5 separate regions of the Homo sapiens genome follow, and regions 1, 2, 3 and 4 are each linked to region 5. The links are contacts of gene promoters, found by promoter capture Hi-C in blood cells and fetal thymus (Javierre and others, 2016). All regions are on one chromosome and are shown on one strand. Each heading gives the region's core, a stretch centred on a gene start or on the middle of the fragment in contact. The rest is flanking DNA. Distances are from core to core; before and after follow the strand shown. Region 1 overlaps SMARCAL1-AS1 (SMARCAL1 antisense RNA 1). Region 2 holds the start of KANSL1L (KAT8 regulatory NSL complex subunit 1 like). Region 3 overlaps SMARCAL1 (SNF2 related chromatin remodeling annealing helicase 1). Region 4 overlaps MARCHF4 (membrane associated ring-CH-type finger 4). Region 5 holds the start of SPAG16 (sperm associated antigen 16).

Region 1 (5,012 bases), core at 1,356-3,855, 3.1 Mb before region 5:
TCATTTTCTTTCCTTAACCCATAAAGTGAGATTTAGAAAGGACCTTAGAGAGCATTAATCTCTCTTTAGAACTAAAGAAATGGAAGCATAGAGAAGTTAGCTATGCCTGATGTCATAGACCTGGCACAGGCCAGGCTGGAATGAGGCACCTCAGTCCCCTAGTAGGGCTCTTTCTAGATGCTAATTAAATATACAGATAGTGATTGCATGCTTGCCCTTGCCTGACAGTGTATGTCTGGGCACCTAAAGTAGTTTCAAGTCCCTCTCTGTGGAGCTTACCTGATAGTGATGTAAGTACAGGGCTTCCCTCTTCCCTCAGCAAGGATTCCCTAGAGAGCACTTGACAGCCCTTTGGGGAGAGCTTTTTTGACAGCCACCCCTAGGGCATGTCATCGCTCAGGTTAATTACACCTAGAGTGCTGTGATGAGATTCAGGAGCAGATGCAATGCTTTGGGTGGAAAAGGAAGCTATTCCCTCTCAGATGCTGCCAGTTGGCAAAGACATTTGCATATCCAAAGCACAGAGGAGTAATGTAAAGGTTTATAAGCCAAGAAATTCACCTTCCTTAACGGTTGTTCCGTTCTGATGGACTTAATTGCTTGGAGTCTGACAGTTCCGTTTTTCTTCCTCCTCTTGTCTGCCTTCCTCTAGCCCTCCTTCTCCCTCGACTCTAAATGTCTTATGAAGACAGAATCTTCGTGTAATTTCTTTACACCACGCATTCCATGGCTTGGTATGAGGGTTCTCCTAGTGTCTTAATTTCTCTAACTGGTCTTGGTGGCTGTGATTAGTTCACAAGCCTCTCTCTCAAACCTGGCACATTTTCTGCTGGGATGGCTTTGTCTGTCCTTTGCTAAAAGCACCCACCTAGACACCCTGCTCCAGTGTTTTTAGACTTAGGAAATTTTACTTTTTTCTGTTTCTTCAATATTGCAAATTCCACTTTGTTCATATTCATCCATTCATTCTTTTTTCAACCATTCATTCTTTTTCTTTTCTTTTCTTTTCTTTTTAGACAGGGTCTGAGTCTGTCACTCAGTTTGGAGTGCAGTGGTGCAACCTTGTCTCACTGCAAACTCTACCTCCCTGGCTCATATGATCCTCCCACCTCAGCCTCCCAAGTAGCTAGGACTACAGTTGTGCACCAGTATGCCCGGCTACTTTTTGTATTTTTAGTAGAGACAGGCTTTTGCCATATTGCCCAGGCTTGTCTCGAACTCCTGGCCTTAAGCAATCTACCCGCTCAGCCTCCCAAAGTGATCCCCCAAAGGGATTACACGTGTGAGCCACCACGCCCGGCCTTCATCCATTGATTCTTATATTCACTTAACAAAAATTCAAGGACCTACTATGGGCTGCACGGTGTGCAGAAGCACCAGGGCTGCATTACTGATGTCACCCTTTTTAAATAAAGCTTACAGTTTAGTTAGGGAGGCAGATCCCCCCCACACAAAAGAAACAAAAAGAAACAAATCAGCTAAATGATAAGTGCTGTGAGGGACCTAAACAGAGAGCCCAAGAGGACACTTAAGAGGGAACTATTTCAGAGTGGTCAGGAAAGGTGTCCCCAGGGGAGACCTGAAGGAGGAGAGGAGGCAGCCATGCGGAGCTCAGAGGGAAGCGGGTTCTGAATGAGCTGTAGGGGCAAGCAACATCGAGCCCAGGCAAGGAAGAGCTGAGCTGGGCATGTTTGAGAAGTGGAAGTGAGGCCGGCTTGGCTGGAGGAGGTGCGAGAGGATGAAAAGGACACAAGATGGGGCTGGGGAGAGAAATAGGACAGATAACGTCCAGGTTCTTCAGTACCACGCAAAGACATTGGGAATTTGTTCTGAGAGCAGCAGGAGGCCCCTAATGAGATGCAAACCAGAGTGGAGTAACTTGTGTGTCTCAGGAAGCTACTTGCTGTTGTGTGCAGAAAGCCCCACAGAAGGGCAGAGTGGGGATAGGAGGACCTCTTAGGAAGCCGTTGCAGGAGTCTAGGGAAGAGATGATGGTGATGGAACTGGATGGACAGGTCAGAAAGCTATTTGGAGGTAGCTCCAGCACCATCTCTCTATCTCACAAAGCCTGAATGTCTGAGTCTAGCACATGCACATAAAGTGATGTGGCACATAAAGTGATGCACATGCACGTGCAGGGCTCTACTGCTCACCCCCTGTTGGCCACAATAGACATGAAGTTGGCTTAGAAATTCAAGTTCGGCTAGACGTGGTGGCTCACGCCTGTAATCCCAGCACTTTAGGAGGTGAGGCGGGCAGATCACTTGAGGTCAGGAGTTTGAGACCAGCCTGGCCAACATGGTGAAACCCTATCTCTACTAAAAATACAAATAAAATTAACTGGGTGTGGTGGCGCATGCCTGTAATCCCAGCTACTCAGGAGGCGGAGGCAGGAAGATCGCTTGAACTTGGGAAGTAGAGGTTGCAGTGAGCCGAGATCGTGCCACTGCACTCCAGCCTGGGTGACAGAGTGAGATTCCCCCCAACCCCCCCAAAAAAAAGAAAGAAAAGAAAAGAAAAAGAAATTCAAGGTCATACACTAAACTTTCTTTTTCTTTTTTATTTTTTTGAGACACGGTCTTGCTCTATCACCCCAGGCTGGAATGCAGTGACATGATCGTAGCTCACTGCAACCTTGAACTTCTCAGCTCAAGGGATCCTCTCACGTCAGCCTGTTGAGTATCTGAAATTACAGGCACACGCCACCAAGCCCGACTAACTTTTAAAATTATTTTTTGTAGAGATGGGGTCTCACTATGTTGCCCAGGCTGGTCTTGAACTCCTGAGCTCAAGTGATCCTCCTGCCTTGGCCTCTCAAATTGCTGAGATTTCAGGTGTGAGCCATCACATTGGGCTGAGCTTTCTTATGGACCATTTCTTCCTGCATATGAGGTAGCTTCTTTACAGAGACATAGATTGGAAAAATTATGTTCTTTCATGATTATTAAGGGAGAATGAAGGCAAAGGGAAGCCAAGTAGCTTGTGCAAGGATATAGAGAACGCTGGAGCCCAAACTTGATCTCAGGCATCCTAGTTTCTTCTACTCATCCAGCAGGCCACTCTGTAGCTCCAGCAAGTGGAGCACCATAAGCCTTTGATCAGTAGTCTACTCTTAATATATATAATTGTATCCACCACACTGGAAATTGCCTAAGTGTTCAAAGTGCATTTTTGTCTACAGATGTTAAATGTTAAGGTTGGATTAGAATTGGCTGTCTGCAATGTCCCTGAGGACCACAAGGGGGCGAATAGATAGGCTGCCTGTGTCCCTCTGTCCCTCTGTCTCACCTGCCCCTCTGTACTCCTTAATTTTTTTTATTTATTTATTTTTTTGAGAGGGAGTCTCTCTCTGTCGCCCAGGCTGGAGTCCAGTGGTACAATCTCGGCTCACTGCAACCTCTGCCTCCTGGGTTCAAACGATTCTCCTGCCTCAGCCTCCCAAGTAGCTGGGATTACAGGCACTCGCCACCACGCCCGGCTAATTTTTGTATTTTTAGTAGAGACAGGGTTCCACCATGTTGGCCAGGCTGGTCTCAAACTCCTGACCTCAGGTGATCCACCCGCCTCGGCCGCTGAAAGTGCTAGGATTATAGGCATGAGCCACCGCACCTGGCCTACTCCTTAATTCTACATGTGTATGCTTTGTCTCTTTGTGTCATTCTTTTTCATTTTATTATAGTAAATTATATCTATTTACTTTTTATCTTTCTCTTTCTCTCTCTCTCTCTCTTTTTTTTTTTTTCTGTGCTCCTCTAACCCCACATCCAGCTGCCCATAGCATGGAGCTAAAGCTTATTTCGCCCAGTTTGCCGTATGTGTTAAATTGCTCCTGGTTTTCAGTTCTCAAAGGGTACAAGTGAAACATTTCATATTTCCCTCCTCTAGCCTTTCCTCACGCTGATTTGATGTTTTCTTATATGGCCACCAATTGCCTTCCTCTTTTCTAGCTGAGTGGTCTTCAATAGAAAAAGAAAGAGGGGTCTACCCCTGACTGAAATAAAATAGCACACACACAAACAAAAGGCCAATCAGTTCTTAAGGAATTTCCTGAGTAGGGGAAAGGAAGGCTTTGAGGCCTGCATCCTGTCTCTACTGTAACTAAGATGGCACCAAAATAACCATCCAAAGTGTGGGATTCCTGTGGATCTGGGCAAAAGGCAATTCCTTCCTTCCCTTTCTCCAGCATTTCACATTTCTTATTGTCAGATTATTCTTTTTAATGTTTGCTCCAAATTATCTGCAAATTCTGTCCAAATTCTCTGCAAATTTGTTCTGTCCATGGGGGAAAGATAAATGGAGGGGCTGCTAGCTATTTTGTGTTCCTGTTGACTTGGAGGACTTACAATCAGCCCCTTGCACAGAGCCAGGCTACAAGCTGCGGGTTCAGACCTCAGGGTGGGGAGGATACAAGGCTGGCTTTCTGCCCCAAACAGACCTATTTATATCTGCATTCGATGGAGGCACAGCCCAGACTAAATCAGGGAGAAGGAACGGTCCCATTCATCGCAAGGATAAATTACCCTAATTGAGTGGTTAAGAGCCTGACTGATTTCTAGATACTTTACAGTAAGGGACCTGCTACTCCTAGATGCAATAATAGAAAACCACGGGCCATCAGAGCCATTTGGGAAAGAGCATTAGCATCCCGTCTGCTCACATCCTTGGTCCTCAGCACTGGTTTCCAGGAAATTAGCTCCCTTTTAACAATCAGTGCAATATTATTTGAGTTTTTACCTTAATTTTCTCTTGTACGTTTCTGAAAAAGCAGGGTCTCTTTTTCTTATCCCTACATGTATACATGTGCAGTATATGCCTTTTATTTTTAATTTTTTTCATTTTTCCATGTTACGACAGTATATGCCTTTTACATTTGACACAAATCTCTACTCTGAATTACGAAGGTAAATCCCCACGTCCCTCTACCCTGCCTCCGTAAAACAGGCAACTCTGGAATTCCTCCTCCGCACCCCCTCCAGCTTGCTATAGGCACAGACACCTCTGCTTCTGGAAAA
Region 2 (5,304 bases), core at 773-3,272, 3.1 Mb after region 5:
AGGCAGGAGAATGGCATGAACCCGGGAGGCGGAGCTTGCAGTGAGGCGAGATCGCACCACTGCACTCCAGCCTGGGAGACAGTGTGAGACTCCGTCTCAAAAAAAAAAAAAAAATTAATCTAGAGTATTGGAAACAGCCTACCTCCCACGGCTATGTGATGAACAAATTACATAATATATGTAGAAATGCTGTATGAATCACTATTTGTGTAGTTACAAAGCTTAATCCCTTTGTCATCCTCTATAAACTCCATGAGGACAGGGAATTTGTTTACTAATATATCTTCATTAGCCATCACAAAACATGTGTTCAATAAACATTTGGCAAATATATAAATATTTTGTTTGGTAGCAAAAAATTATTTCACAGGAGAAAACTACCATTAAATGATTTGATGTCTCTACAGTTCCTTCAGGTTAAAATCTGAATTCCTGTCATTCAAGATTTACTCAATCTAGTTGACAATGTACTTTTCTGCCCCCCAAATATTCACACAACATCTCCTCAAACCACCCAAGGACACTATCTCCTGAACTATTGATGCCTTCCTCCTCTCTCTTAAGTCTTTTAAACGTCCAACTCAAATCCAGAATCTTCCTTTGATCTATCTTAACACATGCTTATTAGATGTCTCAAACTGCTAATTAAAAAAACAAAACTTTAAAAAATACTTTATTCATTTTTGCATTTCTGTCCCCAGGGACTAGGACAGTCCTTTGAATATGGTAAATATCCAATAAATACTTACTGATTTAATTATTTTTCACAACACATCATTAGCTTACAATTTTTATTACAATGAAAGTAAATCAATTTCCTAAAATTCTTCCCTTGCCCCATATCGAGGTGCAATTATTCAGTAATTAAAAAAATATAGCTCCAATAAATGCAGCTGGTCATAAAAATTATTTCAGTAATATCACAATCTACTAGAAGAACCAGGAACGAGTAGCTAATTTTCCAATTCCAGTTATCTATGTTACGGATTACGCTTTGTTATGACTGCAATTCCTTGGATTTCTCCCCTCTTCCGCCCCCGGGATCTTATCCAATTGATAAGGTTAAAATAATGGCTATTATCCTTCTGGCTTAAAAAGCCTAGTGCTCTTCGTTCCTTAAATCATTTCATGTGTAAATTCGGTGCTTAGGAAAGACTGTGATACAACATCTAAGAAGCTACATTTAGAGTTCAGTTTTAAAAAAATCGAGTTCTTGGCTGGGGAAGTGCCCAGGTGCAGGTTTGTTTTGTGGTGAGCGGTTCGCGGGGCCAGGTGCAAGACGCTCAGAAGTGTTTTTGGGTGTCGCTGGCCAACTATCTCCACATAAACTCCGTTTGTTTATTTGACAGCGTTACTGCAGAGGGGAGTTAGGTCCAGCGCCACTCAAACCAGATTTGTAGAGACTTAAAACTGCTTTGTCTGTTTTTTTTTTTTTAATCATAAAACCACCCAGTTGGATCCAAGGCAAATTTGTCACCTACTTCAGGGCCCCTCTGAGGGTCAGAAAGAATTATGAGCGCATTTGAACGCACGGCCCAAATAAAAGCAAACGCACGGAGACTTGCGGACTTGACAATTGTGAGAAATCTCTTAAAACTCGCCTGTGGAGCGGCGGGCGAAAGCCGCGGACGCCAGCAGTAGTCGAGGCCCCGGCGCGGACGGCAGGGAATGAAGTCGCCTGACTTTTCCTCAGGGTTTTGTTTTTCTGTCACGGAGGTACAAAAATAGCAAAGCAGGGGTGGGAAGTCTCCTGGCCGTGTTTTTTTTTTTCCCCCTCGCCAGGGATGGCACTGGGAAAGAGAAGGGAGGAAGCAGGAGCTGCACGGAACCCGTCCCGAGGGAGCCGAGGTAAACCCTGCACCAGAGTTAAGGGAGTCGTGCTCCTGCCACTTCCAGAACACTCCGAGCCGCTTCTGCAGGCCCCGCCCCCTGCCGGGGTTTCCCCGCCACCCGCTTCATTTGCATGGCGCTGCCCCTCCCCCGTTGCCATTGGCTAGCGCCGGGCCCCGCCCACTGCTCCCAGACCGCGGCAGGGTTCCGTCCCCCCGAGCCGCACGGAGCTGCGGGCAGCGGGCGGACTGTTAAACCGCGGCGGCGGCGGCGGCGGCGGCGGCGGCGGCGGCGGCGGCGGCGGCCGGGGCGGGAGCGGGGCGCGCTCTGGAGACGAGTCAGCGGCGCCCCGGGTGGGGGAGGCGGGCGGGCAGCTAGAGATCACCTCAGCAGCCCCCACCACGGCCGGACCGAAGGTGCGGCGGCGGAGGGGAGCCAGGGCGCCCCAGCAGGCGAGTGGCCGGCGTCTCAGCGGCGGGATGACGGGGGTGGGTCTTCCCTCTTGGGGACGGCGGCAGCGCGGGGAGGGGAGAAGACTGCCGGGTGGACTTGCGGGTCAGGCGACCGACCGGCAGCCCCTTCGCCCCCCGAATCCTCTGGGCTGCTGGACTCTGGTCTCGGCACGGGATCGCGCTCTAGGGCGGGGGTCTGACCGCAGCCAAATTTAAACGGCTAAACCTAACAGCCTTGGCAGCTGGGGAGGGAAGGGGTCTAGGGAGGGGTGGGGGCGGACCTGGACGCCGGTCACGTGGGGGGTGGGGCTTGGCAGACCTCCCTTTTGTTTTGGCTGGCGCGTGCGCAGAAGGCAGAACACGTGGTTTCCTGGACCCGCCTCTTGCCTCATCGGCTGAGCCTCACCCATTGGGGGTGTGGTGACGGCTCTTTTGAGGCGGCTCTGAGGCGGAGCCCACTGGATTTGATGAGACCCCTATTTTATTTATTTCACACTTTCTTTCAGGAAAACGTAGATTTGGGCTTTAGAGTTAGATGGGATAGAGCAGAATCTAGGGGATTTTTGAGGGACGGTGCTTCCAAGTTTGTGTCACCGGTGTGCTGAGGAAGGGACCGGTCTTGCTGGAAAAAGTCAGATTGCGTGGTGTTTGGTAGCAAGAAATACCAGGCGGTATCCTGGCCGTTTCAGAAACCACAGGAAAGGAAAGAGGCTGGCTTTGCAGTCGGGAGGGCAGGCACTGGATGGACGTTCTTGTAATGTTTTCTTACTCTGGGAGAGTCCGTTTTTGTTTGTTTTTTTGTTTGAACTGTGGTAAGCACATTCCGTTTTTGATTCCCCAAACTTCAGGACATTCATGTTCTGGCGAGGTTTAGGAGACAAACTTCCTTCGTCTTTAGCCAGTTTGCTTAACTTCATCTGAGTTTGGGTCAGTAATAATTTTAAATATTGCTGGATGGGGCAGGTTTGTTAGCCACAAAACCTAAGTGAAGTGAGCACTGCAGACAAAACTGGCAATTTCTGACTAGGAAAAAATGACTCTAAAAATAATTCAGTATTGAGAAAGAGGCTTAACAGTGAGTGGTCTCTGCCTTTCCCGTTCTTAATAACTAGCCATTTCTTTGGGTTAGTCACCTCTCTGATGTCAAACTTGTTTCGTTTTTGTAAAGTTTCATAATATGGTCTCTGTCTTAAGAGATTGTAAGAAAGAAGAAATGCCTTGTATTAGGAAAAGTGATTCCTAATCTCTACCAATTGCCAAGTAGTGTTATTTTTATAACAAAAGTGAATTTTTTAAAAGCCCACATGTTGGGGAAATATAAACAATGAATTAATCATGAAATAGAATATATTTGAGTATCTTTAAAATCTGTTGTAACCATTATCTTTGGTTCTCCCTCAGTTTCCACCTACTTAGATCAGTGTCAGCGTCTGCAACCATTTCCTCATGGTTTTAATCTACATAGATTATTCTCTCCCGCAAACTGTCTGGAGTAATTTTTTATGTGAAACTTCTTAATCCAGGCCAATTCTCTCACATTGACTTTTAACATTTACATTTTAATTTTGTTTCATGATGCGCCTTTGCAAATAACAATCGATTATTTTGTTAAATCTTATTATTATAAAGTAATTGGAAAATAGATGAGTGCAAATAAGAAAACTATAAATATTTTGTACTTTAAATATTTCTGTCTGCATATATGTGTATTTTTCCTAAAACTGAGACCACATGGTATTTTCATTTAACTCAGACATTCGCATATCATTATTCTTTGAAAAATATTTTTAATAGCTGCTTAACATTTCGCCATGTAACTATCATATTTTAAATTTTTTCTGTTGGCACGTATGTGGGATGTTTCTGGTTTTGCTAGTGTATATTTCACTACAGACAATATCCTTTTACATAAACCTTTGAAATTTCCCCCCCTTAGATTTGTAGAAGAGGAATTACTGGGCCAAAGAGTCTGTTTTTGTTGTTTGTTTGTGTGTGTGTTTTTTAAGGCTCTTATGTCATCACCAAATTACAGAATGTTGTATTGATTTACAGTGATCTAGTGGTATGTGTGTGCCTCCCATTATGTCTTTGTTTATCACCTAGTATTAGGCTTTAAAACTAAAAACCTTGCTTTAATTTGCATTTTAAATTTTTTCACTCTAATCTGTGATGTATCTTTTATTTTTTAACTTATTGTAAAGTGCTTGAGAGAAAGAAATATATTTCATGTTTGACATGCTGCAGATCACTTAGTGGGTGCTCAATAAATACTTGCCAGTGGGCTAATATTTATCTTTTTTATCTATGGAAGATCAGGAAATTGTCTTTTGCTTTTTGTTTTACTCAGTTTACTAGTACATTGTTAGTAATATACTATTATTGTTGGATTCATAACTTTTACTACTTTTTCATTCAGGTGAGGCCTCAGTGATCTGATCACAGTTGTCTACCAGAAGGTCAATTAACTTCTCATAGCCCAACTGCTGCATTATCCAAGAACTTCATCCAATTTTGATGCCATTTATCATGATACCTTAGATTATTTCATTTCCTTTACTCATTCATCTGTCTTCTATGAAATTAACGTAAAGGTTTCACTGATCAATGTAGTTTCACTTGTAGCTTTTACTGTGTTTGACAAAAAATGATGCCTGCTATCTGAAGTTCCTTTATTATTGAGATGGTTCTTGGTAGCTCACTTCTTATTGCCTATAGGATCCTTTATGCCCTTTAATCTACCACATAAATCTTATAAATAATATGTAATCCTTGTTTTCATGATGTTTTTCATGTATTCAGATAATCTCTCCATACCCTTATTTTGTCTATATAGTATTAGATGGTAGTTGAAGGAGGCAGAGAGCTGCTTTCTTCAGGTATAGAATTATGCTTAGGGTTGTTTACTGATTGGGTTCATCAAGATACAAACAGAAAGGAATGGGGCTGCTTGCAGCAGGAGTGACATTTATTGGACAATTAGCAACTAATTTACTAATTTTAAAGCATATCTCTCATATCGCTA
Region 3 (4,585 bases), core at 2,086-4,585, 3.2 Mb before region 5:
GATCGCCTGAGGTCAGGAGTTCGAGACCAGCCTGGCCAACGTGGTGAAACCCCATCTCTACTAAAAATACAAAAAATTAGCCAGACATGGTGGTGCGTGCCTGTAGTCCCAGCTATTTGGGAGGCTGAGGCACAAGAATCGCTTGAACCCACAAGGCAGAGGTTGCAGTGAGCCATCATCACGCCACTGCACTCCAGCCTGGGTGACAGAGTGAGACTCTGTCTCAAAAAAAAAATAAATACATAAAAATAAGGCTGCTGCAAGGGCTCACGCCTGTAATCCCAGCACTTTGGGAGGCCGAGGCGGGGGGATCATCTAAGCTCAGGAATTAGAGACCAGCCTGGGCAACATGGCAAAACCCCATCTCTATCAAAAATACAGAAAATTGGCCGGGTGTTGGCAGCATGCGCCTGTAGTTCCAGCTACTCGGGAGGCTGAGATGGGGGGAATCACTTGAGCCTGGGAGGCGGAGGTTGCAGTGAGCCAGCATAGTGCCACTGTACTCCAGCCTGGGTGACAGAGTGAGACCCTGTCTCTAAATAAATAAATAAATAAATAAATATAAAAAATCAAATGATCTCTCATCTCCTATATTCTCAAAGCAGCTTCTCTTCCCATAAGTCTAGTTTTTATAGTCTACCTGCATTCTCGTAGTCTCCCAGGTGGAAATCATCCAGGCAAACAGAGTCCTCGGCTTATGCAAGTTTGTTCCCCCCATTAGTTCCCTCCTCTCTCCTTCAGGCACCATCTTTACTTGGGCCACATCACTTGGTACTGCATGGATTTGCAACAGCTCAACTGCGCTTCCTGCCTCAGGCTTCTTCCCATTTCAAACAGCCTACAGATCTTTGCCAGCTGATTTTTACCCCCAGGCTCTCCTTTAAAGATTTTTTTGGTCATGTCTTTGGGCTCCGCTGTCCCTACCTCATCAAGTCTACAGTTGCTCCCCTGGCTTTTCAGGCCTTTATAGAATTAGGTCTCAACGTACCTGGCCACTGTTCCTCACTATTCCTTAACCAAATCCCTCCACATTGGTGAAGTAGAGTTCCTTGAAAATTGATCATGACAGCCTGTCATGTAAGAACTCCAGATTATTCAATTAACCTGCACCCGAAATCTCCTAGCCTTTCAGGATCCCAGCCTTGCAGAGAGGGAAATGATATGAAAGATCATCAAGGCTGACCCCCAAATAACCCACATGTCCTCCTCCAGGATGCCCTCATCAGCCTCTTTCTGAATGACTGCAATGTCAAGGAAACGCCACCCTGCAAGGCAGCCTATTCCAAGTAGAAAAAGCTGCTAATGTGCATTTGATTATGATGATGGCAACACTGTATGCTGACTCGGGGCATGCATAATTAATTGGAAGCGAGTTCCAAGATCAGATTAATATTTCATTTCCCCTCTCAGAAGGAAGGCTATCTCAGTGAGATATAACCTCTTCTGCTTTTGTCTCCTATATTGGAAGCAACATTTTCTTTTTCTAGTAGTTGATAAAATTTTCAGCCCCATCTTAATTAAAAAATAAATTGATATAGTTATTGATCAAAATATTGATAAAACTCATTTATATTACCTTGTACTTATATTTTAGGTAGAAATGCTTAACCAATTTAGAGTAAGAGAAAGGCAAGGAGGAATAAATGAGTTCAAGTGAGAATCCTTTAAAAATAGGCTTTCTTTTTTTTCTTTTTTGAGACAAGGTCTGTCTCTGTTGCCTAGGCTGAAATGCAGTGGTGTGATCTTGGCCCACTGCAACCTCTGCCTCCCAGGTTCAGGGAATCCTCCTGCCTCAGTCTCCTGAGTAGCTGGGAATACAGGCATGTGCCATCATGCCTGGCTAATTTTTGTATTTTTTGTAGAGATGGGGGTTTCACCATGTTGCCCAGGCTGGTCTCAAACTCCTGGGCTCAAGTCATCTGTCCGCCTCAGTGTGGGATTAGAGGCTTGAGCCACTATGCCTGCTCAGACTATTTCTTTTCAAAAGGCTTGTAATAACCTAGGCTCTGTTACCATTTACCATTCAGCTGAACTGGAGAGTTCTTTAAAAAGCTTAAAAATAAGGTTGTTTTAAAATTGGCTTATTAACTATATATGTCTGAAAGGATAATTTGCAGTCTGCATTTAAAAATATGATCTGAGTCTTATTTATCCCAATATTTAGCAAATAAATCCTTGCAAAGAAAGAATTTATTTGCTAAATAAATGTAAGTGAATGAGCAGATCCACAGAGTCTTAAGTCTTGGTGTCAACGATAAGATTTAACTCAACTTCTTATTTATTTAAACTTTTTTCTTTCTCTTTTTTTTTTTTTGAGGCAGGCTCTTGCTCTGTTGCCCAGTTTAGAGTACAGTGACCATCATGGCTAACTACAGCCTTGACCTCCTAGGCTCAAGTGATCCTCACCTTTTCCTCTGGAGTAGCTGGGACTACAGGTGTGCACCACCATGTGTGGCCTAACTCAATATTCTGATGGTGATTTCACAGGAAGGAGGAGGTGCTTCACTTTCCTGATAAGCTACCGTAAGGCCCCTTTCTGCATGAGGCTCAGACCTGGTTCAAACTCTCCTGGCAGAAACAATTCAACCATGAGCTGTGCTCGAGGAGGGCATACTCCTGGTTTTCACCTTCTGGCCAACAATCCAAGCTGGGGAAGGAAAACAAGCTTTTGGAAGGCTCTGGGTCTCTTGCTCACTCCACTGTGTTTCACTGAAATGGGGGAGGAAGAGTCTGTGGCAGCCACTGGGCTGCAGCACTGAAACCAGGCAGGCATGATGGGCCCAGGGCTGTCCTGTTCAGAGGCAACAGCCTTCCCCCTCAGCACCTTTGACAAGGCCTGCCTGGTCATGGAGGGATGCCTCTTATACTCCTTTACAACAAGGGCTGAGCTCAAAGGAGGAATGCTGGGCCAAGTCAGGAAGCCTTCTTCCTTGGGCTGGCTTCACATGCCCTGTGACTTTGTGCAAACCTACTATACTGCCATGTCTCAGTTTACCCCTCTATCAAGTGGGGAGACACTGAGAATAAATAAAATGACAGAAGGGAAAATATATTCTATGAAGCCAGTACCCTATTTTAAACACTCCCCATTCTGTGCTGGGGATGCATTCCTGTGGCAGCCCTATGTGTGGTGTTGCTGTGTACTTTTTGAAACAATTCAACATTTGCCATGGGGAGTTTTGTCAGTTTCTAATGGCCTGCTGGAAGAGGCAGCATTCAGAGCCTGTGCGGGAATGTCAGCAGCTGTAGGAGCTAATGCCATCATTTCCCCATAAAGCGATGCATGCATGGTTCAACTGAGAATGACTGCAGGCCATTGTTTTCAGCTCTAGGCTGGGGGAGGTCCCTAGGAGTGATTCACATCCTCCTACTCAGGACCCAAAGACTTGGCAGACAGCTTAATGCCTCCCTCTGCTCCAGGGGTGAAGAGCCATGTGCTGGCATTACCTTGTAGAGGTAATCAGTGGATTCTGTCATTTCTGAAAAATTGGTCTCAGAAAGCCCGGCTTCTGCCAGAACTTTAATCTTCTCTTGAATCAGGGGCCTGTTGGGGAGAAATGAGCTGCAGTGAATACAACCTGCACAGAACCACCAGACTAATGAAAATGAGGCCACCCTCCTTGTTCTTATGGGACAACGGCTTGTTTACGGTTTCACATCTCTGCATCTCTCAAGGTGCAAACACCCATCTTGAAAAATTTGCCCCCTCTCATTTGTAAAAACTCCAATTTAGGGCTAAGAATATCATCAGGTTCAATATTCTTTCTAATGGAAGATGTGTAGGAAATAAATGCTGCCTCATTTCAACACAATTTTGAATCTGGTGGTATTATGAGCTGCCCAATTAACAAATCCACTAAAAAGGGGGAAGTAGGAGTGACCCACACACATTGCAAAGGGAAGACTCCTTAGTCATAAGGCTGGAAACAGAGACAAGCAGTGGAAACAAATGAGATAATCAAGAAATTTTGTATCAGGAAGGGGGAGATAAGGGGAAGAAGCTTTTTGAGATTTTTCACTTAGGTAACAGACAGAAAACCCTAGGGTTGAAAATCTTACTCCAGCTCTGCTAACGAAGTACACTACACAGTCCAGGGTAAGCCACTTTCTCCCTGTGGTCCAGCAGCAGCAATGTAAGATGTGCCCACCAGATAAATGCACATCATAAAAGGTAAAAGACTGTCACCCTGTCCTAACAAATGCCTTCACAGCTGGGAACAGGGTGTTTTACAAACTAAATTCCATCTATATTTTGTCATAATCAGCACTTCTCCCTGCCTCAGACCAGCAGCAAAAGGAGCCACAACCCCTTATTGCTATAAGATTCAGCATGCACCCTGCAAGCCACCAGTGAACGCTAGTGAGGGAGGCCAAATATGGTCATGATGAAAGCAGGAGGGCATCACTAGTCAATTTTCTATAGATCCTTAAAGACCTTACTTAGCAAAAGCAGAAGCACTTTGGGAGCAAAGTAAACATATCATCAGTTTCCACCCTTGCTCGACTCCAACTGCCAGGCCACCCAACCAAGCCATACCAAAGGTAGTCATCAGCTGTGCCCTTTGCCACGAGGTAGTGAATGCCC
Region 4 (4,913 bases), core at 1,674-4,173, 3.1 Mb before region 5:
CCAGAGGAGGAAGAGGAGGAGAAGGCGAGGCCACTCGCCCGCCCGGACCTGCCCTTCTCTCGGCTCTTGCCCCTCGACCGAAGGGACCTTTGATGGAACCGAGGGGAGGGCGCCACGGATTTGCCGACTGCAGCAGGGGTGGGCTGGGGGCTGAGATAATGTAACCACTCCTTTCTCCTGTTCTCTCCCACACGCCCCTCTCCTCTACCCCTATTCTCTGCTCCACTGCCCTCTCACCCCGGTACACACACCCTTCCTCTAGCCAGGATCTTCATGCTCAGGAAGGAGGCGCCTCTGCAAGGGTTAAACGATCTTTTCTTTTTCTCCCATCCTTTTTCCTTCCCAAACCTCTATTTTACCTCCCTTCTCCTAATTGGCTTTCCCCTCTTCGGTGTAACCCTTTGGCTGCGGAGGCAAAGCACAAGCCCCTAGCCCAGTTTCACCTGCAACACCCCTCCCCCACCCAACTGCTCTCTTAAAAGCAACTCTGGTGCTTCTGGGGGTTAATTGCCCCAGTTTTCTGCCCAGGAGAATTAAAACTTCTCCCAATCTTCTCTCCTCCCCTACCTTGACTCCCCCAACCCCTACCACCTGAGAAAAACGATCTTTTCTCTCTCACACATGCAGTCCTCAATTCTTCATTGAGCTAGTTTTCTCTAAGCCCAGCTCAATCCACTCCAGATTTGATTTACAATTGTCCCCACCCTTTTATATAAAAGAAAGATTTCTCACTGCGTAGGAATTTGAGAAGAACCCAATAATCCTTTCCTGGGGAACTTTTAAACAATTCGACATTGATTTAAACAATTCGACAGAGGCTCTAGTGGCCCCTCCACCACGCTTCTTCAATCCCTCTGCTCCTACCAGTGTCCTCAGGTCAAAAGCAGAAAGGAGACACACTGAACAAAGTTGGAGGTTGGGGTGGGTGTGTGAGGGCAAGAAAAACTTTTTTGTTATTGGGCTTTCCAGGTGGAGTTCAGAACCAGTGACTCACACTTCTCAGTCCTGGGAGCAATTTATTTGCTACTTGGAGGGGTTGTAAGAAAAGCCAGTGAGAAAGCAGACTCCCCCCACAACACAGATCCACTGTGGACCCCCAAAACCTGTCCTGTCCCCCTCTTTTAAGACTCCAGCCACCCCTCTTGGGCTCTCTACTTCCACGGGGCACATGCTGATGCCCCTGTGTGGGCTGCTCTGGTGGTGGTGGTGCTGCTGCTCCGGCTGGTACTGCTATGGATTGTGTGCCCCAGCCCCCCAGATGTTGCGCCACCAGGGTCTCCTCAAGTGCCGCTGCCGCATGCTCTTCAATGACCTGAAGGTTTTCTTACTGCGGCGCCCTCCTCAAGCGCCCCTGCCCATGCACGGCGACCCCCAGCCCCCCGGTTTGGCGGCCAACAACACCCTTCCGGCTCTGGGCGCCGGGGGGTGGGCAGGCTGGAGGGGCCCCCGAGAAGTGGTGGGCAGGGAGCCCCCTCCTGTGCCACCTCCACCCCCCTTGCCACCTTCTTCTGTGGAAGATGACTGGGGTGGCCCAGCCACAGAGCCACCTGCCTCGCTGCTCAGCAGTGCCTCCTCAGATGACTTCTGTAAGGAGAAGACCGAGGATCGCTACTCACTGGGCAGCAGCTTGGACAGTGGTATGAGGACCCCACTCTGCCGCATCTGCTTCCAGGGGCCAGAACAGGTGAGTCCCCTTTTCTCTTCTCCTGCTTCCTGTGGTATTTTCAGGTCTTGCAGATTGCTACTCGCCTGCTTGCCCTGGGGAACGGTTATATTGTCTTTAGTATGAGGACTCTATGTTTAAGAGCCCTCATTGATGTTTCTTGTGGTTAAGTTTGCCCAATGAGTGTCTGGTTCCTGGTGGAGCCTGTTTGGTGGTTCGTTTGTGTTCTAGGTTTTGCATTTTCCTTCCAATGCTAGTGTCTCCAATTCCAACTCCAAATTTTACAAACATCCTCAGAATAGAAGATCTAGAAACAACGGAGTGAAGAAACTTGGTGGTACATTCACACTGGTTGCCAAGATATCCTTTTATCTAACTTGTTGTTAGTAACATTTCGTCTAGCCCATCTTCAGTCCCATATCCCAACTTCTTCCTGCTCTGAGAGTATGCCGAGATCTTGTTCTCTTTTCCTTTTCTCATAGGTTGAAATCCAGTAAGCTTGTTCTTTTACTTTGGACAACTTCCTTTCATATCACGTTGACATCCTCAGCATTATGTTCTAGCAACTGAGGAGGAAATGGAGAGGGATTCTAGGTCCAAGACTATATGATTTGCTGAGACACTTCTTGGCAGACTCAAATTTTTCTATGTTGAAAACAGGCAGGTAAATGGGAATGAGAATGAGTTTAAGAGACTGACGTAGGCAATAAGGTATCTTGCTATTTCCCTTTTCAGACCTAAAAAGTGTGTTGACTTAGAAAATCCCTTAAATGCTCCCCATCCAGGATAGGGATGCCAACTCTCATATGCACCAGGGCTTTTCCAAGTCTGGCAGGTTTTCCCTACCCTATTCATTCAGATTTTCACAGACACCCCTCCCAAGTTCACCTACAATCTAGTATCAGCAATGCTGGATAGCATGTGTACATTCTTCAGGAACTATAGAATGTGGCAACACTCTCCAAAGAATCACAGATAGAAAGGCTCACGCAGTTAGTGATGCTGGAGAAGGAGTATTCAATTGCAAGGTGGGCAAGGTTATGTGTTCCTATCAGCCACTTCTTCAATAGTTTCCTGAAGTGCAGGGAGGATTTCTGGATACTCCTTGAGGAAGTGGCAGTGCAGTAGGATGCCATGCCAGGCTTTGACTGGCTCTGGTTCTTGCTGAGGGTGTGCTCTGTAAGATGCAGGCTTAGCTGGCATTTTCATTCATTTTCTTGCTTTGCTCTCAATGGACAAAGAACTCTGGGGACCAGTGATCCCTGGAGCTACAGCTTGGAATTATGAGGGGAAGTGATATAGATCTTAGTGTGAATAAATGTCTCTGAGAGGCTGGGGGCTGGGTTCTTCCATCTTAAGATTACCTAAGTATCCAATAAAGTGTTGTCCAGAGTTGAAAACTCCTGTTAGGAAAAATCCTCCAGAGTGCCTTCCCTTCATTCTTTCTCTCTACTTCCAGCACCAGGCTCTGGCAGAGCTATGGGGTAGAGTGGCTCGGCTGACAACAAGAGGGTGCCTCACTTTGATATCAGGATCTTGCCACCATCAAGTACTTCATACTCTCCAAAAGAAAGAATTATTTGGCTTCCTAAATTCCTAAGGCATTTCTTTTTTCTCCCATATGGGCTCAGGTCTGCATGTCACAGGGGCTTCTGAGAGTGTGGCTTCTGGCAAGAGCATTCTTGTCTCTAGAAAACAGCAGGACTTGGAGGTGCCCTGGGATAATATTTCCCCCACTGTGTGAACTTTTTCAAATAGCTTCATGCCTCTGGGCTGCTTTTCCAACTTACGTGATTTGGAGACACCTTTTCATGCCCCCCCCTCCTTTCCTCAGAGGTGTGTTGGGAGAATCCAGGAGAAAAGAAGTGTAAAAATATCTTGGAAGGAATTTATATATAATGAGCATGTATTTTGATAACAGAAAGCTGTATTTTATTGAAAAAAGAAAAAGAAAAAAATCATTGGCAATATTGTGAAATACCCTCATGTGATACAAGATCTGGTCAGAGGTTAGAAGCTTTCCTTTCTTGTTCATTATTTTGATGGGGTGTCATAAATAAAGCATTGAATAAAAAAGCTAACACCAGTAAAGGAATGGGCTCTATTATGTGGGAGGATTAGGGGGCCCTGTCTGCATTAAGACTGGATCAAATTAAGCACTTCCTGCATATGATTATTTTGTTTTGGGGGTTTACCTTATCTGTGCAGGAGCCAAGAGGCTTTAATGGGATTGTGTTATAGTAGTAATAACAGCAATGTGAGTACTGCATTAGATGTGGAGAACACAGTTTCCCAGTTTCTTCTCATTTTTTTTTTCACAGCATTTCTATGAAGGAGACAAAGGAGGGGAGATAAGGGAAACTCTAGAAAAGGAAGAGAGAGATAGAGAGGCAACAGCAGTGAAGGGGAGGGAGAAAGAGAGGGATAGAGAGAGAAGGAGGAGGAGGAGGGAGGGGGAGAGAGAAAGAGAGAGAGACACGCTAAAATTTCTGTGTTTTAATTTCTGTTCAGGGAGAGAGCTGTCCAGCAATTGTCTACACATGGCCCTGGAGGAAATGTGGGCTGCAATCTTAGTAGCTGAATGTCTTGGTGTTATCTCTGCCCAAACAAAGGAATTAAGCAGACCCCCACCTCCCTGCTCCCCATCACCCCAATCATTTACTACTGCTATAGGGGCTAAACGACTGCCAAAAAATGAGTATTTGATCTTTTCCTGCCAACAGCTTGCAATATTTGTGGTGAGGAACAGCAAGAGAATCCAGCTAGTTTCACCTTTGTACCTATCTACAAAGGACTTTGCATCCATTCATTGGTGCATGCGTTTATTTAACAAATTTTTCGGGGCACCTGCAGTGTGCCCGTTGCTGTTCCAGGCATGAGTATTCAGGAGTGAACAAAATAGATGAGATTTCTGCTCTCCTGAAGCTGACATTCTAGTAGAGACACATAAATAGACAAGTAAACTAGTAAGTAAATAAGGTGATTTAAGCTCTGTGATGAAATTTAAAAAGGAAAATGAGTTAGAAAGGAATGAAAGGGAGGCAGTGGGAAAGGTACCACCACATTAGATAGGGTAATCAGGAAAAGTCTTCCTAAGAATGTGTCATCTGAGCTGACACCTAAATGATGAGAAGGGCCCAGCAATGCATAGGTCTAGGGGAAGAGAATTTCAGGTGAAGGAAATAGCAAGTTCAAAAGCGTGAATGTGAACGAGCTTAGCATGTTGGAAAAACAGAAGAGAAGAAAGGAA
Region 5 (4,881 bases), core at 1,426-3,925:
TTCATATACTCCATAACTCAATTTCTTAGTGTTCTGACAATAGCTAAGAACAATGTATATTTGTATCTCACCTTGTTGAAGTCTAAAACATAAAAGCAATGATATTCTGGGTTCCTTAGAAGAGAAATAGGTGGCACTGTTACAGCTAGGAGATTACAGGGAAAGGGTGTTGCAGGGTAAGAACTCTTTTTCCTGAACCCAGTGTGTAAACCATTATAAAGGACATGGGACCTTCATTAATGTCCCCCACAAGATGGATCCTGGCTGTTTCTGGTTTGGACATTAGTCTATTCATACTCTTCATAATTGAGTATTTAAAAGCAGAAAAGTGGGAGATTTCCTAAAGAATTCAAGTCAACTTCTTTCAAAGTCTTGCTCGATATTGATAGCTCATTGTCTAATGTACTAGGAGCATCTGTTGAGTGATAAATAAGGGAAATCCAGGCCAAATGCAGTAGATTAGAAGTGATTGAGTATATGTGCGAAGCAGAGGACATCAGATTTCTGATTCATCTGTGCATATTATAACTTTTATTTACCCACCATGATAGCTCAATTAAATTACCTGAAAGCAAAGACTTTAAACCAAAGGAAGTCTCACTTTGGCAACTATCATAATTGCCTTAAGAAACAATGTCAAACAACATTACACAGGCAACTCTTAATTAACCATGTGAAGAGTGCCCAGGGATACAGGAATAATTGGTATTCACAAGTAATCCTCAAACTTCATTTCAACTGAGAGTTGAAATGACTAAACCTCTTCCCTCAGCATGGAATATAGCAAAATAAACTGGTTAAATGTTTAACTGTGTATCCCCTGACTACCATTTGGTTAAAATACAAAATAGCAGTCAGTCAACCAAAGAAAGAAGAAAAGCAAATGGGTTGGATAATTCACACAACGGTTAGTAAAATCCTAAAAAGTTACAGTTGCTTATATGTGTTAAAGTTCAAATAAGTGTGATTATTTGAAAAAGTCTTTGTAAGACAGGTTTGCAAACTGCTACATCTTGGCAGGTGTGACTCAGTGATCTCCCTGCACATTAAGTAAACCTGATTTTCATTGCTGAAAGTTGTGTTATGTTAGACTCCTACCATTTATTTCACAAAGATGTTTGCAAAAAGTTACCTCATTGTGTCAATCTCATGTTAACAATTAAACTATGTGTTCACGGAAATAATTTTAATGCAAACAAAATTACAAGATGCCTGGTTACCATTCAGTAGCAAGGGCACTGGATATAGATAAGCTTAGGAAGAATTATGAAAATCGTTGTTAAAGAGGAATATCACTGGAAAAGACTGCCTGTTACATCTACGAAAACAGTATAAAACCTCATTTATGACACTAAAGCACCCATATATTTCTTTCAAATTCATTTCAAGCGATTCAAATTTCTATTCCTGTAAAAGTCGTTTTTGCACCCAATAAAATACTACATATTTTCTTTAATCTTTCAGCTAAATTCTTCAAAGCTCTCTGTAGTGTGGATGTGTACTGAGCCTGAGTCAGGACAGGTTAATCGGCTTGTCAAAGCTCACGAAATGAATCATTGCTGGATTTCTGAAATCTTGAATTAAACCTGGAGAGGATTACAGTTGGACAAACAAATAAGATTTGGCAGATTTTGGAGTTTCCTTGGTATCTTTAAGAACTGAACAGATAATCATCTCTTTCTTACCTCCCTGAATAAAGGAGTTACATGTCTTTTTCTCATGAACCCTCCCCGTCTCCCTAGTAGGAATTAATCTATATAACTAGAGGAAAGAAGTTCTAAAGCCTTACACAAGAAATAGTGGACCTAATTATCCACACATTGTTATTCAATTTTTCTGGTACTTCCGATAAAAATCGCTAATCACCATCTGCTTTATTCCTAATATCTCTGAGCTGTGTAGCTCACCAGATCATTATTTATTTGCTCAAGAAAAAAAAGCAACTATACTATTAGTATTTATTATTAAGTAGTCAAACTTGGAACTACTCAGGAAGATAATGCTATCAAAACTAAGCATTTAAGCATTAACTGGACCATCGAACAGGATCGTGGGTTGGGTATTCTGAGCTTCAGCTCCTTAAAGTCCAATGGCAGAGGTCTTTCCCTAGTCTCCTAACGTTCCTCCGTTGAATTTATTGGGACGGCTTTCTGAAAGATTGAGGGCTTATTTAGGAAACCCATTATTTGAAAGGAGGGTTGAAGCAATTTGTTGTGCTGTCTTAACATAAAAAGCAACCCTCCATCCAAAATGTACTGAGTGGTTACTAAGTATGAGGCCTTGGAAGGTCTCCCAACTCTTCTAACAGGTACAGGACACCCTGGGCTACTAAGGGCGAGAAATTCAGTGAGTGGCTCTCAGGAAGACTGTGGTGGCAAAAACAGCACCTTGAAGTCCAACAGAGGCTCCTCCGGAGTGGCCCCAAGGCTCAAAAGGCGCCGCCAGTGGGAGGCCCTCGCCTTCGTCCCAACACCCATTACCCGCCAGCGCAGCGGGCCGCGCCTCCACGGGAAGGATACGTTCCAGGTAGTAGGCGCCCTCAGCCGCCACCGCGTCCGCCGTGTCCCTCGCGTCCCCGGCTGCCGTCAAACCCATGCCCAACGCCTCTTCCAGGACCCTCACGGCGGAGCTGGGCATCCCTCGCTGAGCAGCCATCTCTGGCGCTTCGGGCCCCCACCCCCAGCAGGCCCACAGCCGTCCCTAAGGGCAACAGCGAAGACGCTACCCAACGGCCCCCGGGAGCTCTCGCGAGATTCCGGCATCTCTCACCCCGCCCCACGGACCAGCCCCGGGCACGTAAGGGTTACCGGGAGTCCAGGGAGCTGTCGCCCTCCCGCGCCTCCCAGTTACCGTGGCAACGATGTTGCCTAGTTAACGCGAGAGCTCGGGCGCAGCTCTGGGAGCGGACAAGATACAGTAAACAATTGGCTTGCATTGCACCTTCCTACCCAAGCAGCTTGGTTTTCTTTCGCTTTGACCCTGTAATTTCTTTCCCACTTCGTTGTCGTCTCTGAATTACCTTTCTCTTGATTCTTGCCCATTAGCATCCTCCAATTTCAGATGTTTGTAGATCCCCAAGTGTTCCCAGGGAAAACTACTAGAAAAGGTGAGTTCTCAACACCTGGAATTTTTTAAAAAATGAAAAAATAAAGTTCTAGAAATCATAATAGAAAGACTGACCCAGGGGAGCTACCAGACGCTCCTCAGATGCTTAGCAATGAAGAACTATGGTGTTCAGCTTTGTCAATTCCTTTCTTGTGATCTTTAATGCATTTAGCTGGACATCTGTTTTGAGTTTGGTTCCATATACTAAGACTTGGAATAGTATTTGTAGCATTGATTCTCGCCAAGGTAAAAACAGTTGCATAAAAATTATGAGCTACAAATTTGGTCCTGACAAATGTATGCAGTTGACACTTGCCCCATCATGTATAGTCTTATTGCTGAGAGGATCTTCCTCAGGTTATATCGCGTATGTATCAGAAGCAAATTCAAGGCCCTTTTCTTTGCAAATATTTTTTTTTCCCTTAACTTTTATTTTAGGTTCAGGGGTACAAGTGCAGGTAAGCTCATGTCGCAGGGGTTTGGTATATAACTTATTTCGTCACCCAGGTACTAAGTGTAGTACCCAATAGTTATTTTTTCTGATCTTCTCCCTCCTCCCACTCTCCTCCTCAAGTAGGCCCCAGTGTCTGTTGTTCCTTCTTTGTGTCCATTTGTTCTCATTATTTAGCTCCCACTTACAACTAAGAACATGCAGTATTTGGTTTTCTGTTCCTGCATTAGTTTGCTAAGGATAATGGCCTCCAGCTGCATTCATGTCCCTGAGAGGACATGATCTCATTCTTCTGTGGCTGCATAGTATTCCATGGTATATGTGTACCACATTTTCTTTATCCAGTCCGTTGATGGGCATTTAGGTTGAATCCATGTCTTTATCATGAATATCAATGAACACGCATGTACATGTGTTTTTATGGTAGAACAATTTCTGTTTCTTTGGGTATATACCCAGTAATGGGATTGCTAGGGCAAATGGTATTATTTTTCATTCTACATTTCTTGGTGAAAACTGGAAGCCAGTGATCCTATAAAAGCTCCCATTTATTACCAAAAGGTAGCAGTAACTTCCTAAGGAGGTGTTTGAGAGTACGTGTGTCAGAGCCAGAGAGACAGCTTTCAGAGCCTGCTTCCATCACTTACTAGCTATGACACATTGGGCAAACTACTACTTAATGCCTCTAGGCCCCAGTTTCATCATTTGTAGAACAAAGACAACAATATTACCTACCTCAAAGTGCTGTTGCAAGGGGTAAAGCAACAAAAAGCATTAAGAACTTACTGGGAACATAGAAGACACTAAGAAATGTTAGCTGTTATTTCTATTAAATGTGTTTGATATTGTTTTATTTTTTAGAATAATCAAGGGTCACAGATATAATAGTCGGGTAATTCATTCCTGGTACCTATTCTTTTACTACCCTACTCTTTGTCCTTGACTTCTCACATCAGACATTTCCTGAGTACTCATTAAATGCAAGGAACAATTACAGGAGGCTGAAAATACAGAAGAATTCTGACATTGGAGAATCCACTGCTTTTACAGAAAGCTTTCTCTTTATTTCAGAAGAAGGCATTACCTTATCTCTCAAGGTTGTTTCCTATAAATCCAGCCTTAACAAATGACCTGGGTAAGGAGTGGTCAAGGCCTTACATTTTTGGCATATCCAGCAAGACATGTAGGAACACAAAAGACATGAAGGATGGTCTCTCAGAGCGATTACTGTTTACTTTTATTTGTTTTTGTTCGTTACAATGGCTCATCTATTTCTGACTTTTTAGATGTAGTGTGTGATCTTCTACAGATGTTTGTCTCCTGCC

What was found. Contacts are between HindIII fragments. The CHiCAGO score rates a contact against its expected background, and 5 or more counts as called.
Region 1: a fragment that was not itself captured here is called in contact with the fragment with the promoter of SPAG16 in region 5 in 6 of 17 cell types (non-activated CD4 T cells, naive CD8 T cells, total CD4 T cells and 3 more); the score reaches 17.2 in non-activated CD4 T cells.
Region 2: the fragment with the promoter of KANSL1L here is called in contact with the fragment with the promoter of SPAG16 in region 5 in 4 of 17 cell types (fetal thymus, total CD4 T cells, activated CD4 T cells and 1 more); the score reaches 9.4 in fetal thymus.
Region 3: a contact is called between a fragment that was not itself captured here and the fragment with the promoter of SPAG16 in region 5, in 2 of 17 cell types (naive CD8 T cells and naive CD4 T cells). The highest score is 7.2, in naive CD8 T cells.
Region 4: a contact is called between a fragment that was not itself captured here and the fragment with the promoter of SPAG16 in region 5, in 1 of 17 cell types (non-activated CD4 T cells). The highest score is 5.1, in non-activated CD4 T cells.

The regions. Positions count from the first base shown.
Region 1 is chr2:216,402,421-216,407,432 of GRCh38, reverse strand. The region is part of intron 1 of SMARCAL1-AS1 (SMARCAL1 antisense RNA 1); the gene reads left to right. Among named protein-coding and RNA genes, the nearest start is that of SMARCAL1, 7.6 kb to the left of the region's middle. The HindIII fragment of the contact is 2,376 bases long and covers 1,418-3,793 here.
Region 2 is chr2:210,168,127-210,173,430 of GRCh38, reverse strand. It overlaps KANSL1L (KAT8 regulatory NSL complex subunit 1 like), which reads left to right and starts at 2,022. Exons shown (of 15, transcript NM_152519.4): 1 at 2,022-2,282. RefSeq lists enhancers at 1,093-1,726, 1,727-2,362, 2,756-2,935, 2,363-2,997 and silencers at 1,806-2,135, 2,256-2,565. The HindIII fragment of the contact is 7,802 bases long and covers 224-5,304 here.
Region 3 is chr2:216,477,162-216,481,746 of GRCh38, reverse strand. It overlaps SMARCAL1 (SNF2 related chromatin remodeling annealing helicase 1), which reads right to left. Exons shown (of 18, transcript NM_014140.4): 16 at 4,538-4,585; 17 at 3,448-3,544. Among named protein-coding and RNA genes, the nearest start is that of RPL37A-DT, 19 kb to the left of the region's middle. The HindIII fragment of the contact is 1,336 bases long and covers 2,668-4,003 here.
Region 4 is chr2:216,366,516-216,371,428 of GRCh38, reverse strand. It overlaps MARCHF4 (membrane associated ring-CH-type finger 4), which reads left to right. Exons shown (of 4, transcript NM_020814.3): 1 at 1-1,684. The coding sequence starts at 1,169. Among named protein-coding and RNA genes, the nearest start is that of MARCHF4, 3.5 kb to the left of the region's middle. The HindIII fragment of the contact is 1,519 bases long and covers 2,164-3,682 here.
Region 5 is chr2:213,282,258-213,287,138 of GRCh38, reverse strand. It overlaps SPAG16 (sperm associated antigen 16), which reads right to left and starts at 2,675. Exons shown (of 16, transcript NM_024532.5): 1 at 2,520-2,675. The coding sequence starts at 2,655. It overlaps SPAG16-DT (SPAG16 divergent transcript), which reads left to right and starts at 2,930. Exons shown (of 3, transcript NR_161186.1): 1 at 2,930-3,106. RefSeq lists enhancers at 2,273-2,352, 2,423-2,472, 2,513-2,642. The HindIII fragment of the contact is 3,357 bases long and covers 1,256-4,612 here.